2 separate regions of the Homo sapiens genome follow, and region 2 is linked to region 1. The links are contacts of gene promoters, found by promoter capture Hi-C in blood cells and fetal thymus (Javierre and others, 2016). All regions are on one chromosome and are shown on one strand. Each heading gives the region's core, a stretch centred on a gene start or on the middle of the fragment in contact. The rest is flanking DNA. Distances are from core to core; before and after follow the strand shown.

Region 1 (6,959 bases), core at 1,776-4,275:
AGATAAACTGAAGATAGGCTTTGTATAACATTCAACATAAGAAGTAGCCATAAAATGAATTTACAAACAAAACAGCAAGTAAAGACATCTATAATACGATAGATTGAATTGCCATATTCTTTAGGATGAGGCCTGGAATATGCTGAACATACAGATTGCAGAGGCACTCAGCCCAAGATTAGTATTGGGCCTTCATACTCCACAGTTGATCATCACAGCTAATATAAGAATTCATGCAATGATTCAGTTATTGAGTTGAAACTAGCAGGCTGGCACTGTGCTAGACTCGAAAGATATACTGAAATAGGTAGGGCAGAAATCCTAGCCTGAGATTTTTTTTCTTAGAAATAACATTCATAGCAACTTGTGAAAAAAGCCATGCCTGTGTCTCCAGCAGCAGTGAAACAAGATGGTGGATCCCCTCACCATTAACCCCCATATGGAAAGGGTATATGTAATTCAGAAGGGATGTGTATTATGTCTGTTCTCACACTGCTATAAAGGAATGCCTGGGACTGGGTAATTTATAAAGGAAAGAGATTTAATTGACTCACAGTACCTCAGGGCTGAGGAGGCCTCAGGAAACTTACAATCATGGCAGAAGGGGAAGCAAACACATCATTCTTCACATGGTGGCAGGGGAGAGAAGAATGAGTGCCCAGCAAAGGGGGAAGCCCCTTATAAAACCATCAGATCTCATGAAAACTCACTATTACGAGAACAGGGTGGGGGAAACCAACCCCATGATTCAATTATCTCCACCTGATCCCGCCCATGACATGAGGGGATTATGGGAATTACAATTCAAGATGAGATTTGGGTGGAGACACAGCCAAACCACGTCAGGATGTGTAGACAACTGAAGTACAATAACATCAAGGCTGTTTTGACGTAAGGGCAGAATTTACAGTATGTGCTCTCACACAACTTGAAATCTTAAAGGCCTTCCGGGAACAGGGTTAATCAGAAACCAACATGGCAGATTAGTACCAAAGATGGAGTTACTTTAGCTTCCAGATTCCACCCATCAATCCAGCTCTTACAGTTTCACTCGCCCTCCTATTTGGAGATGGTCCCTGAGCTTTTAGGGAGGGTGGTTTCATATGATATAGCTTTAGCAGCAGCGCCCTAGCAGTGGAAAACAGATTGGGCCCAGAGAGATTCCAAATGAGGGAGATTCACAGGCTTTGTTGAATTATCTCTAGTCTTGAGAATACCATGACTTTGGTTTTCTCAGAAGTAAAACAAGAGATACTTCTTGTTTATAATTAATTTGAATAATTAATAATTTGAATAGTAGAAACATAATGCATGCAAGGATTACAATCAAAAGAAAATTTGTATGCCAGAACAACAAAGAACCTATTTCGTTGGGAAGCCAACTGAGAGCAGCGTGAAGAAAATTAAGGCCTGACACAGGGACTCACACTCGTAATTCCAACACTTTGGGAAGCTGAGGTGGGAGGTTCATTTGAGCCTGGGAGTTAGAGATCAGCCTGGGCAACAGAGCAAGTCCCCATCTCTACAAAAACAAACAAAAATAGCCAGGTATGATGGTATGCACCCGTAGTCCCAGCTCCTTGGGCGGCTGAGGCAGGAGGATTGCTTGAGCCCAGGAGGTCAAGGCTGCAGTGAGCTATGACCACTCTACTCCAGACTGGGTAACAGAGCGAGACCCTTTCTCTAAAAACAAGAAAAAATTAAAACCCAGTTCTCCTTTAGCGACATCTTGTAGCCACTAGCCTGACATTTTAAACACATAAATTAGAAACATGATGCAAGAGTGATTCAAGGTATTTTATATAGGAAATGCCTGGTGTAGTGTCTTGGACAGCTAAATAAAGGTAGCTGTTAAAACATTAGTTTTATTCTATGCTCTTACCATTCCTCCCTCTCCAAGTTTTGTTTGTAGTCTGTGGCAGCAACCTAGTCTGTATTTAGTACACATTGAATAATCAACAATGAAATGTAAATATTGAGCACATTGTGTGTCAAACACATGTATTAACTCAAACCTCACAGAAACCCTTTGAGGTCGGTACTATTAACAATCCCCATTTTACATACGAGTAAACTGAAGCATGGATAGACTAAAGTAAAGTGCCTGAGGTCAACTAGTGAGGAGGCGGAGTGGCAGTCAAGTCGAGGCAGCCTAAGCCTACACTGCCTCTATGTTGCATTAATAAATTAATAAATCTGTGACCAAATAAATGAAGTGACATTTAGTAGCATCGAAAGATCCCGTGAGTAGGACTTCCTAAGAATGCTCTCCTTCTTTTCATGGACAAAATTTTAGTCTGTTTAAAATAAATTTTGGACCGGACACCGTGGCTCACGCCTGTAATCCCAGTACTTTGGGAGGCCGAGGCAGGTGATCACTTGAGGTCAGGAGTTCGAGATCAGCCTGTCCAACATGGTGCAACCCTGTCTCTACGAAAAATACAAAAATTAGCTGGGTATGGTGGCGCGCGCCTGTCATCCCAGCTACTCAGGAGGCTGATGCAGGAGAACTGCTTGAACCCCGGAGGCGGAGGTTGCAGTGAGCCAAGATCTCGCCATTGCACCCCATCCTGGGCGACAGAGCGAGACTCCGTCTCAAAGAATAAATAAATAAATTAATTAATTAATTTTGAAAACCTGTCAGCACTCATCAGAGCTTTACACTGCTGTACTCGGGACACTTGGGGCCGTAGACAAGCAATTAAATTGACTCACACGTGGTTAGAACCACGTCATCCTGATTCGTGAATCCGTACTCTCAACTACTAGAAGCCCTTTGTGGAATGCTCGGGGCGAACCTGACGCTTGAGCTCTGACACCACGCAGACACAGCCGGGGATTTAGGAGCTGGGTAGGGACTCCTGGGCCGGATGCCTCATCCCGGCATGCACCTCAAGCCCCGGTGACCACGCCTTCCGGCGAGCGCCAGGGAGCGCGTGTGCGCCTCGCCGCCCGGAAGCGCCGGCCGCTCCCTGCATGCTGGGAGTTGTAGGCCTCCGGCGTCAGCCCGCGGGCTGCCGCCCGCACTCTCCAAGAGACTGCTGGCGCCGGCGCCCGCCCGCGCGGCACCGACGCGGGGAGCGCGCTTCGCGCTGACTCAGCGGCGGCGGCGGCTGCGGCGGCGGCGGCGGCGTTAGCCGGCCCTCGCGCTCTTTCCCTTCCTGGGGCGCCGACCCCGCCCGCTTGCTTGCTTGCTTGCTTGCCTGCCTGCCTGCCTGCCCGGCGCCACGCAAGAGAAGGTGCCAGGGGACGCAGAGCGACTAGAGGCGCGCGGTCCCGGCCAGCACCGTCTCTGGCGTTGTAGCTGCGGCCGTGGCGGAGGACTACGGCGACAAGGACGAGGGCCGCTCTCCCAGCTCTCTGCGTGCCGCGCCGCTCCGCTCCGCTGGCTGACCATCTGGAGTGCAGGCTGGGAGGCGGGATGGAGTGATAGGGAAGGTGACTCGGGGCTCGGGGGCAGCGGGACCGGGACCAGGTTTGGTCCGCGTGAGGCTTCGAGGAAGTTGGCCGGGGCGGACCGGCCCGGGGGAGTCCCGACGCCAGGGAGGGTGCAGGCTTGGGACCCTCTATGGCGGTGCACCCCCTGGCTGGGCGGACCGGGTGGGGGTGGGTACGAGCCGGGGCCGCCGCCGAGGAGCGCGTCCCGAGTGCGTGGCCGGCGGTTGCTTGGTGTTTCATCACCCGAATTGCCACGAGGCTTCCTTTAGGGGAGGGATCGGGGGAGGGATGGGAGCAAGGCTAGCAGAGGAGGGTCGGCATCGCCTGTGGTTCCGAAGCCCGTTAGTCATCGTTGTAGCGTTATCAACTGTGGAGACCTCAAACTTGATTCTTCCCCCACCCCTGGACAAAAAGGAAAAGTGTTATTTCTGTGCAGTAATTGGCCAGCACGGACGCTCCATTTCTTCTCAAACCTTCCTCACCATCCTGCAGGACTAGAGAAGCATGAGGTTTCCCTGTAACCAGAAAAACGAGTACTTTTTGAAAGTGCTAATTAGTTGTGGCGGGCGGGGGTTGGGGGAGAGTTACGTTTTATTAAACCGACTTGTCAGCGTGGTGTTAAAAGGCTGGAAAGATTCAGTCGTAGTATTTGAAACAGTCTTCAGTAGGTGTAGAGGAATTTTTCCAAATTGTTTGATTCTTAATGGCTATCCAGGAAAAGTTAAGGCTTAATATTTTAAGTATGTTGCTTGCCTTCCCCCAAGAACCTTTGCAAGATGCATAATTGTTTACCGTATTGAAACATTTTTTGGGGTTTTGTTGTTGTTGTTTTGAGACGGAGTCTCGCTCGGTCGCCCAGGCTGCAGTGCAGTGGTGCCATCTCGGCTCACTGCAACCTCTGCCTCCCAGGTTCAAGTGATTCTGCAGCCTCAGCCTCCCGAGTAGCTCTATTACAGGTGCGCCCCGCCACACCTGGCTACTTTTTGTATTTTTCGTAGAGATGGAGTTTCACCGTGTTAGCCAGGATGGTCTCGATCTCTTGACCTCGCGATCCGCCCGCCTCAGCCTCCCAAAGTGCTGGGATTACAGGCGTGAGCCACCGCGCCCGGCCTTCCACTGCATATTGATCGTCCAAATGCCTTCTATGTGGGGGATTCTTTCTGTAGTGACAACTGTTAACTAGTTTGTTTCCTTGGGTTTATTGGCTATGTTTTCCTTAGGGCCACTTCATTTTTCTCCCGATAGCTTCAGAGTGACTTGACCAAGCTTAAGCACTTTTTCTTTTTTTTGACACAGTGTCTCACTCTGTCGCCCAGGCGGGAGTGCAATGACACGATCTCCGCTCACTGCAACCTCCCCCTCCCGGGTTCATGCGAGTCTTCTGCCTCAGCCTCCTGGGTAGCTGGGATTACAGGCGCAGGCCACCATGCCCAGCTAATTTTTGTATTTTTAGTAGAGACGGCGTTTCACCGTGTTGGTCAGGCTGGTCTCGAACTCCTGACCTCGTGATCCGCCCACCTCGGCCTCCCAAAATGCTGGGATTACAGGCGTGAGCCACCGTGCCCAGCCAGCAATTTTTTTTAGATGGAGTTTCGCTCTCGTTGACCAGGCTGGAGTGCGGTGGCGCCATCTCAGCTCACTGCAACCTCCGCCTCCCGGGTTCAAGCGATTCTCCTGCCTCAGCCTCCCGAATAGCTGGGATTGCAGGCATGTGCCACCACACCCGGCTAATTTTTGTATTTTTAGTAGAGACGGGGTTTCTCCATGTTGGTCAGGCTGGTCTCGAACTCCCGACCTCAGTTGATCTGCGCCCCCCTCCCCTCGGCCTTCCTTAGTGCTGGGATTATAGGCGTGAGCCACCCTGCCTGGCCAGCATTTTTTTAAAAAGCCATAGCAAATTCAAGGAAGCTTTTATTGGACTTCTCAATCAGGGATTCTTAGAAACTCCGAAATCGTTTTTTCTCTCTGTGGGCATTTTTCAGGGGAATGGACATCAGATTTTCTTAACATTTAGGGGGCGAAGGGAACCAGTGCCTTTCTTTGTGTTTTTCTGTCTTTTAAAAATGCTGATCTGGTATAAGAATGCCCCAAGTCGTTTCCATTCCACATGTTCCTACCTCTGACTATAAACAACGTATTGAGGGCTCACTATGTGCCAGCCATGCTCTGCATACCTTATCTCTTTGAAGCCTTTACAACTTTATGAGGCATATGGTCTTTTTCCCATGTCATAGAAAGGGTTCTCTCAGGTTTTGTAAGTTGTCCAAGTGGCCCCAATTAAAAAATGACAAGATGGGGATACAAACCCAGGTCTTTGAAATCCAAAACCTATGCTCTACTATGTCCTAGGGACATAGTGATGGATAGTCAAGACAGTCCTTGCCCTTTAAGATTGTGAGAAATGGCCGGGTGGCTCACACCTGTAATCCCAGCACTTTGGGAGGCCGAGTCTGGCAGATCACCTGAGATTAGGGGTTCGAGACCAGCCTGGGCAACATGGTGAAACCCCATCTCTACTAAAAAATACAAAAATTAGCCGGGTGTGGTGGCTCACCCCTGTAATCTCAGCTATTTGGGAGGCTGAGGCAGAAGAATCACTTGAACCCAGGAGCCAGAGGCTGCAGTGAGCCGAGATCATGTCACTGCACTCCACCCTGGGCAACAGAGTGAGACTGTCTCAAAAAAAAAAAAAAAAGATTAATGAGAGAAAACTAGTAAGCTGGCAGTGACAGCATAGCAGTGCTTAGGATGGGGCATGTAATCCAATTTGGGAGAGTTGGACAATAGAGGTCAAAGAAGTGTTCTTGAAAGAGATGGCTTCTAAGTTGAATTTCAAAGGACAGCAGGGGTTAACCTACTAACAAGAAGAAAGAGCAGTGTGCAAAGATGAAAGGTAGAATACCACTGGAGAACTGCCATATGGTTCACTAGCACTGGCCTTGCTGACCTGGTGTGCAGAATAGTGAGGAGTTATTCAAAAGTGTTTGGATCGTAATCTGAGGGCAGTAGGGAGTTACACTGCCTTGAAGTCTGCAAGTACGTTATGAACCATAAGAGAAAGGGCTGAGCTGTCTTCAAAGCTCTCAGTCCATATCCTGAGTTATTTGATTCAGGCAGGCTCAGAGGAAAACAGAAAAGCCTATTGTAGGTATCCTGTAACCTGGACCTGAGCCTGGTTTTGCTATTCCCAAAAGGCCTTTCTCCCCTACCCCTGCTATTCCCAAAAGGCTTTTCTCCCCTACCCCCAATCCAATTAGTTTTTTGGCGTCTTTGGTTAACGGTAATTGAAACAAAAAGCCCCACAGCCTTTTTTTGTTTTTTTTGAGACAGAGTCTCGTTCTGTCACCCAGGCTGGAGTGCAGTGGCGTGATCCCAGCTCACTGCAACCTCCACCTCCTGGGTTCAAGCGATTCTCCTGCCTCAGCCTCCCAAGTAGCTGGGATTACAGGTGTGTGCCACCATGCTCCACTAATTTTTTTGTATTTTTAGTAGGGGATTTTACCATGTTGGCCAGGCTGGTC
Region 2 (6,247 bases), core at 3,567-6,066, 4.3 Mb after region 1:
ACAGAGCTAAAGGTCAAGTGCCTGAGAAAGAAGTTTGCCCATAAAATGCTTTGAAAAGAAAGGAGAAGGCCAGGCGCAGTGGCTCACGCCTGTAATCCCAGCACTTTGGGAGGCTGAGGCAGGTGAATCACCTGAGGTCAGGAGTTCAAGACCAGCCTGGACAACATGGTGAAACCCCATCTCTACCAAAAACGCAAAAATTAGCCGGGTGTGGTGGCAGACACCTGTAATCCCAGCTACTCAGGAGGCTGAGGCAGGAGAATCGCTTGAACCCAGGAGGCAGAGGTTGCAGTGAGCCGAGATGGCACCACTGCACTCCAGCCTGGGCAATGGAATGAGACTCCATCTCGAAAAAAAAGAAAAAGAAAAGCAAGGAGAAAGCTACATCTATGAAAAAGCTAGGCACTGTCAGATGTGGTGGCTAACCCCTGTAATCCCAGCACTTTGGGAGACCCAGGTAAGAGGATGGCTTGAGCCCAAGAGTTTGAGACCAGCCTGGGCAACAACATAAGACCCCATTTCTCCAAAATATTTTTAAAAAACGGGGGAGGAGAGGAGGTCAGGCATGGTGGTGCGTGCCTGTGGTCCCAGCAACCTCAGGTACTAGGGAGGCTGAGGTAGGAGGATTGCTGGAGCCCAGGAGGTCAAGGCTGCAGTGAGCCGTGACTGTGCCACTGCACGTAAGCCGGGACAATAGGACAAGATCCTGTCTCAAAAAAAAAAAAAACAAAGAAAGAAGGAAGGAAGGAAACATAATTTAAAAAATCAAGTCCAAAAAAAAGCAAGCAAGAAGTAAAAAAAAAAAGCTCAGCACTGTCACAAGAAATATATGGCAAGAAAAGCTGGCAATTTCTATATACCTGTGAAACCCAAATTGTCACTTGCCTTAAGGATCAAATGTATCAATGGTGTGAGCCCAAAACTCTGTTGCAACTTCTTCACTTTCCCCAGATCTTCAATGGCAGCTTTGTTAAACTCAACAAGGCTTCAGTTAACACGCTGAGGATTGTGGAACCATATATCACATGGAGTACCTGAACCTGAAATCAGTAAATGAACTGATCTACAAATTGGTTATGGCAAAATCAATAAACAAATTACCTTAACAGATAACGCTTTGATTGCTAGATTTCCTGATAAATATGGCATCATCTGACTGGAGAATCTGATTCATGAGATCTATGCTGTTGAAAAACTCAAGTTCCTGTGATCCTTCAAATTATCTTCTCCACGAGGGAGAATGAAGGACTACCTATTTTGTATTAATAAAAGGTATAAATGCCAGCAACAGAAAAGACTATATCAACAGGCTTATTAAACGGATAAACTGAAGCATCTAACATTATTTTTGTAATCTGGTCAGTTAATAGCCAGTCACTACTTTCAAACTGGAAAAAACAAAAACCAAAACAAAAATGTGACTGACTCCTTCAAGACCAAAATACACCACTTTTTGCCTAGACGGCACTTTGAAATAGAGGGCAATACCATCATATTTCACGCTTGCCTTTCTACTTTTTAATACAGGTGAACTTTTTCTCCTTAATAGGAAAGAACACCAAGTAAAGAACAAATAGCAGTTATGGAAAATAGTTGCAAAAACTGCAGGGGGCTACAGAACAAAGGACTGAGTGTAGGCAGAGAGATAGAGATCCCCGAGGTGTGGGGCAGAGCCCACGCATCTGAATTCCAAGAACAGGCGCTTTCTGACAGAGAATACCAGGAAATGACTTCACATTTTTCCAGACTATCAACATACTTCATTCTTCCCAGTAGGAGAACCCAGGGCCTGTTCCACGCCCACAGACTTTGGTCAGGCAAAGCGGCCGCAGGGCGTCTGGGCTAAACGCAACCAGGAACACATTGGCAAACTTTTGCGCCTGCGCCCACCGGGCGTGCACCTGTAGGCTGAAGTCGCGCATGCGCTAGATGGGAACGTTGTTTCTTCTCCCCTACCCCTTTTCTGTGGGTCTGTTTTAGGGACAGACTGCTTCCGGGTCGAAGGGCTTGCTTCCGGAGAGCGGGAAGGCTAAAACGCGGTAGCTAAACTGCAGCCAACTTTGGTTGTGTGTGGAAAAGGCTTTAGCCATGGACAGGTCAGTACTGATGGTGGCAGCTGAGCCCGAAGTCTTGCCCGTCTCGCCTGTTGGCGAAACGAAATAGGTGAAACTAGACTCCCAGAAGAAGCCAAGGAGGTCCCGGGTGCTTCCCCTAAGGCTCCTTCCCCATGCCGGGAAATTTGGCCACAAATGGGGAAAAAGCCGCTTGGCGTGCGTCGGGGTGGGGTACAGATCATAATAGTCCCTTACTTTCCCACTACGTTCTGCGATCTATTCGGCGCTTTGGGGCAGCAACACTGTTCGCTCCTGGGGTGGGCGGGGTAGGTAGCGCGGCGTTCGAAATGCTAAGTGACCAGCCTGAGATCACAAAGCCAGTCAGTGAAGATACTGGGATCTCAGCCCAGACTTTCTGATTACAAGTGCCAGCATCAGATTCTGAGTTCCCTCTATGATCTGGGTACTGTGCTAGCCGCCTACAACAAAGATCAGTTATTCAAGATCCTTCCCCTCGGGGAATTAGTTGTGTAATGGAGACAACCAAGCAGTGTAAAGTGGTAAGTGTTTGGGGGCGATTAAGTCTCCTTGTCACTGTAACTATCAGGAAGACCCCTCAAAGAAGGTAACTTTCTAGCTGGTCTTTGAATAATAAGAGTACATTATTCGTACTCCAAACATTGAGTACCTACTATGTGACTGCCATTGTTCTAAAGGCGTTGAATATATATTATTAGCTTATTTAATCTTCAGAACAAGAAAAATCCTATGAGATGGGTACTGTTATCCTTTTTTCATATATAACACTGAGACTAAAAGAGGTTAAGGAACTTGCTGAAAGTTCGGAAGCTAATAAATACAAGAACCAAATTGCCAACCTGCATCTGTGTGTCTCCAGCCTACCTGAGGCTCTTTGAGGAGTAAGTAGTTGTTGACCAGGTGCTCAAGGGGGCAAATGTAGGTCTTTGTAAAAGAAGCATATTCAGAGGTGCTAGGATATGAAAAAAAAGTACGTGTAGCTCAGTGGTCACATGCAGTATACGTTTAAAGTGATGTTTGTGGCTGAATAGAAGACTGAACCCCTAAACTGGGGTCACATTGTAAATATCATTTTAGGAAATTTTTACTTCTATAGACCAGAGAGCTATCTGAAGGTTTTTTTTTTTGTTTTTAATTTTAATTGTTAAACGTTTAAAATTGTTTCTATGTGGTTGTTTCCCATACTTTCCTGCTGAAGGAATATCTGAAGGTTTTAAGTGGAGGAAAAGCATATTAGATTCTTGTCTTAAACACAGGCCTTTTAGTCCGCACAATTTAGTTTCTAGACCTTTGAGTGAAACTGACAGGGAGTGTTGTGATGGGACAGGAGACCTCCTGGGTTGAAATAACTTGAAGGGTCATTTTGCTCCAATTTACCACAATTCTTTTACTTACCCTTCTATCTCACAAGCTCTGTTTGTTGTTGTTGTTGCAAGCTCTGTTTGTTGTTGTTGTTGTTTGTTTGTTTTTTAATAGTACCCATGGTTTAAAGCATTTTGGAGACTGCAGAAAATCTTTTAAGAGAGAATTCCTGCAGTTAGGTAACTCCTCAATCCAACAAGGGAAATAAGATTCACTTTCATGAAGCAATTATCTAAAACAGTGTTATAATATAGATTCCAAGTGTTGAAATAATTCCTTAGGAGAAAATAACATAGTGAGTACTAGAAAGTCAGAGAAGTCTTTGTGCAGGTAAGATTTGAGTAAGGCTTTGAAGAATAAGCAGGATTTGGAGCCAGGAGTGCGTTCTCAACAAAAGATCTAAGACTTGGCTACTAGAATGACTATACCTTAACTTACTCAGGGTCCTTTACTCCAACTGTGATGATAAAATTCTTTATAAATGCTATATTCTCGTTTCACTTATATAAGCTTGATTATACTACTTTAGGAGTGGCTTTGGAGAGATATCATCCCCTGTAATCCGGGAGGCAGAGGTGACACGGACTGCACGGAAACAGAGTGCTCAGAAAAGAGTTTTACGTATCCTTTGCGATTTAAGCATCATTATAAAAATTGTAACATGTTTGGAATCAGTGTTGTAGAATTTTCTTTTTATAAGAGTATTAAATGGTAGCTATAATAAAATCCTGTAGAAACTTTTTTTCACTCCACAGAGCTGTCATTTGGTAAATATAATGCAAAAATTTAATGAGATCGTATTTCCCTAAAAATAAAGATATTTCTTACTGCTGACAGCTTCTGCTGAGATTAGATTTCTTTTTATTATTTGAAAACTGACTAAAAACATTTAGTTCAGTGTGTAGTTATCTAAGACTGACATCTGATCATTTAAATGGCAGAAGCAATGAATTATTTACCCTTTGCATTGAAAAATGGTAGCCCTAAAATACTTGTTCTTGAAAAATGTATTCACATAATTTGTATAGTAAAAAGATGGTTAATTCTCATTTTAGTGATCTCTTTTCTACATGGAAAACTTTTCTTAACTCGTTGTACAGTTCAGGCATCTCAAGATGAAAATTTTGGTAATACTACACCAAGAAACCAGGTTATCCCTCGAACTCCTAGCTCATTTCGACAGCCTTGTAAGATTTTTTGCTTTTAAAGCATTTAATAATAACGGTAATTATAATAGCAACTAACATTTATTGTAACATAATTAGTATAGTATTTGGTTACGATATCAATAAGCACTAATAATAATGATTGCAGTTATTATTCGTTTGAACTCTTGCCATGTACAAGGTACTGTACTTTCCATAAACACACGGTAACTATGACATGGGTATTGTTGGCCCTGTTTTACCAAAACTGAAAGTGAGACTTAGAGAAGTTAACTAATATATACAATAAGTATGTAAATAGGCTGGATGCAGTGGCCCATGCCTATAATCTCAACACTTTGGGAGGCCAAGGTGGGTGGATCACTTAAGGCCAGGAGTTCAAGACTAGCTTGGCCAACATGGCAAAACCCTATCTCTACTAAAAATACAAAAATTAGCTGGCGTGGTGGCACATGCCTGTAATCCCAGCTACTCCGGAGGGTGAGGCAGGAGAATTGCTTGAACCCGGAAGGCAGAGGTTGCAGTGAGCTGAGATTGTGCCACTGTACTCCAGCTGGGGCGACAGAGCAAAAAAAAAAAAAATCCCAGTTCCATTATTTACATACTCTTTTTTTGTTCTGAGACAGAAAAAAAAGAGTATGTAAATAATGGAACTGGGATTCAAACAATGATCTGTTTACTCCAAAGTTTATGCCCACTACACTGCACTGCCTCAGTATGCCTTATAAAATTAAAATATGAAGAATCCGTTGACTGATTAGTGTCTTTAACTGCTCAGTTATTCTATAATGAAAGCATCTGTAATTGCAGTAAAATGTTTCCTGTTAGGCTCAGTAGTACCTACAGCTCAAATTTAGAAAAATAAGTTAAATCCTTGTATCATGGAAATGTTAACATTTAAAGTATTTATTTGGTTAGAGTCTAAATAATGGAAAACTGAAAAATTTATTCTTCATTGTTTGTTTGCTTACTTTGTTTTGATAATGAATGCTCACGCACTTTAGGTTCTTTCTACCAACCTTTTGTTTATAGTTACCCCAACAAGCCGAAGCTTACTAAGGCAGCCAGATATTTCCTGCATTCTTGGAACAGGAGGGAAGTCGCCCCGACTTACGCAGTCTTCAGGGTTCTTTGGAAATCTCTCCATGGTATGTAGAAAAATAGGGCTAAGAACTCCTTTTGGGTCGAGTGTGGTGGCTCACATCTGTAATCTCAGCACTCCCTGAACTCCTGACCTCAAGTGATTCTCCCGCCTTGGCCTCCCAGAAGTCAGGAGTTTGAGACTAGCCTGCTTAGCATGATAAAACCCTGTCTCTACTAACAATAAAAAAATTAGCTGGGAGTGGTGGCTTATGCCTGTAATCCTAGCTGCTCGGGAGGCTGAGGTGTGAGAATTGCTTGAACCCAGGAGGCAGAGGTTGCAGTGACCTGTGATTGCAAAAGAAAAAAAAAAGAGAAAAAAGAACTTCTCCCTTTTTATAAAAATATGATATTTGATGTAAAAGTCTTTTAACAAATATTGAGTCAGAATCATCATAACAGTAACTTTAGGTTATATGGATTGAAATAATTAGACAGTAAAAAAACTGAAAACCTTATGCATCTGATATCACAGATGGAAACTGT

What was found. The method cuts DNA at HindIII sites, captures the fragments that hold promoters and counts their contacts. A CHiCAGO score of 5 or more calls a contact.
Region 2: a contact is called between a fragment that was not itself captured here and the fragment with the promoter of XPOT in region 1, in 1 of 17 cell types (neutrophils). The highest score is 6.2, in neutrophils.

The regions. Positions count from the first base shown.
Region 1 is chr12:64,401,367-64,408,325 of GRCh38, forward strand. It overlaps XPOT (exportin for tRNA), which reads left to right and starts at 3,026. Exons shown (of 25, transcript NM_007235.6): 1 at 3,026-3,438. RefSeq lists enhancers at 2,601-2,650, 3,748-4,624 and silencers at 3,041-3,200, 3,531-3,640. The HindIII fragment of the contact is 10,073 bases long and covers 1-4,702 here.
Region 2 is chr12:68,684,978-68,691,224 of GRCh38, forward strand. NUP107 (nucleoporin 107) reads left to right here and starts at 2,001. Exons shown (of 28, transcript NM_020401.4): 1 at 2,001-2,096; 2 at 3,985-4,076; 3 at 4,556-4,642; 4 at 5,654-5,769. The coding sequence starts at 2,089. It overlaps LOC100507250 (a long non-coding RNA gene), which reads right to left and starts at 1,882. Exons shown (of 3, transcript NR_038930.1): 1 at 1,760-1,882; 2 at 886-1,040. It also overlaps the pseudogene RPL7P42. The HindIII fragment of the contact is 1,707 bases long and covers 3,964-5,670 here.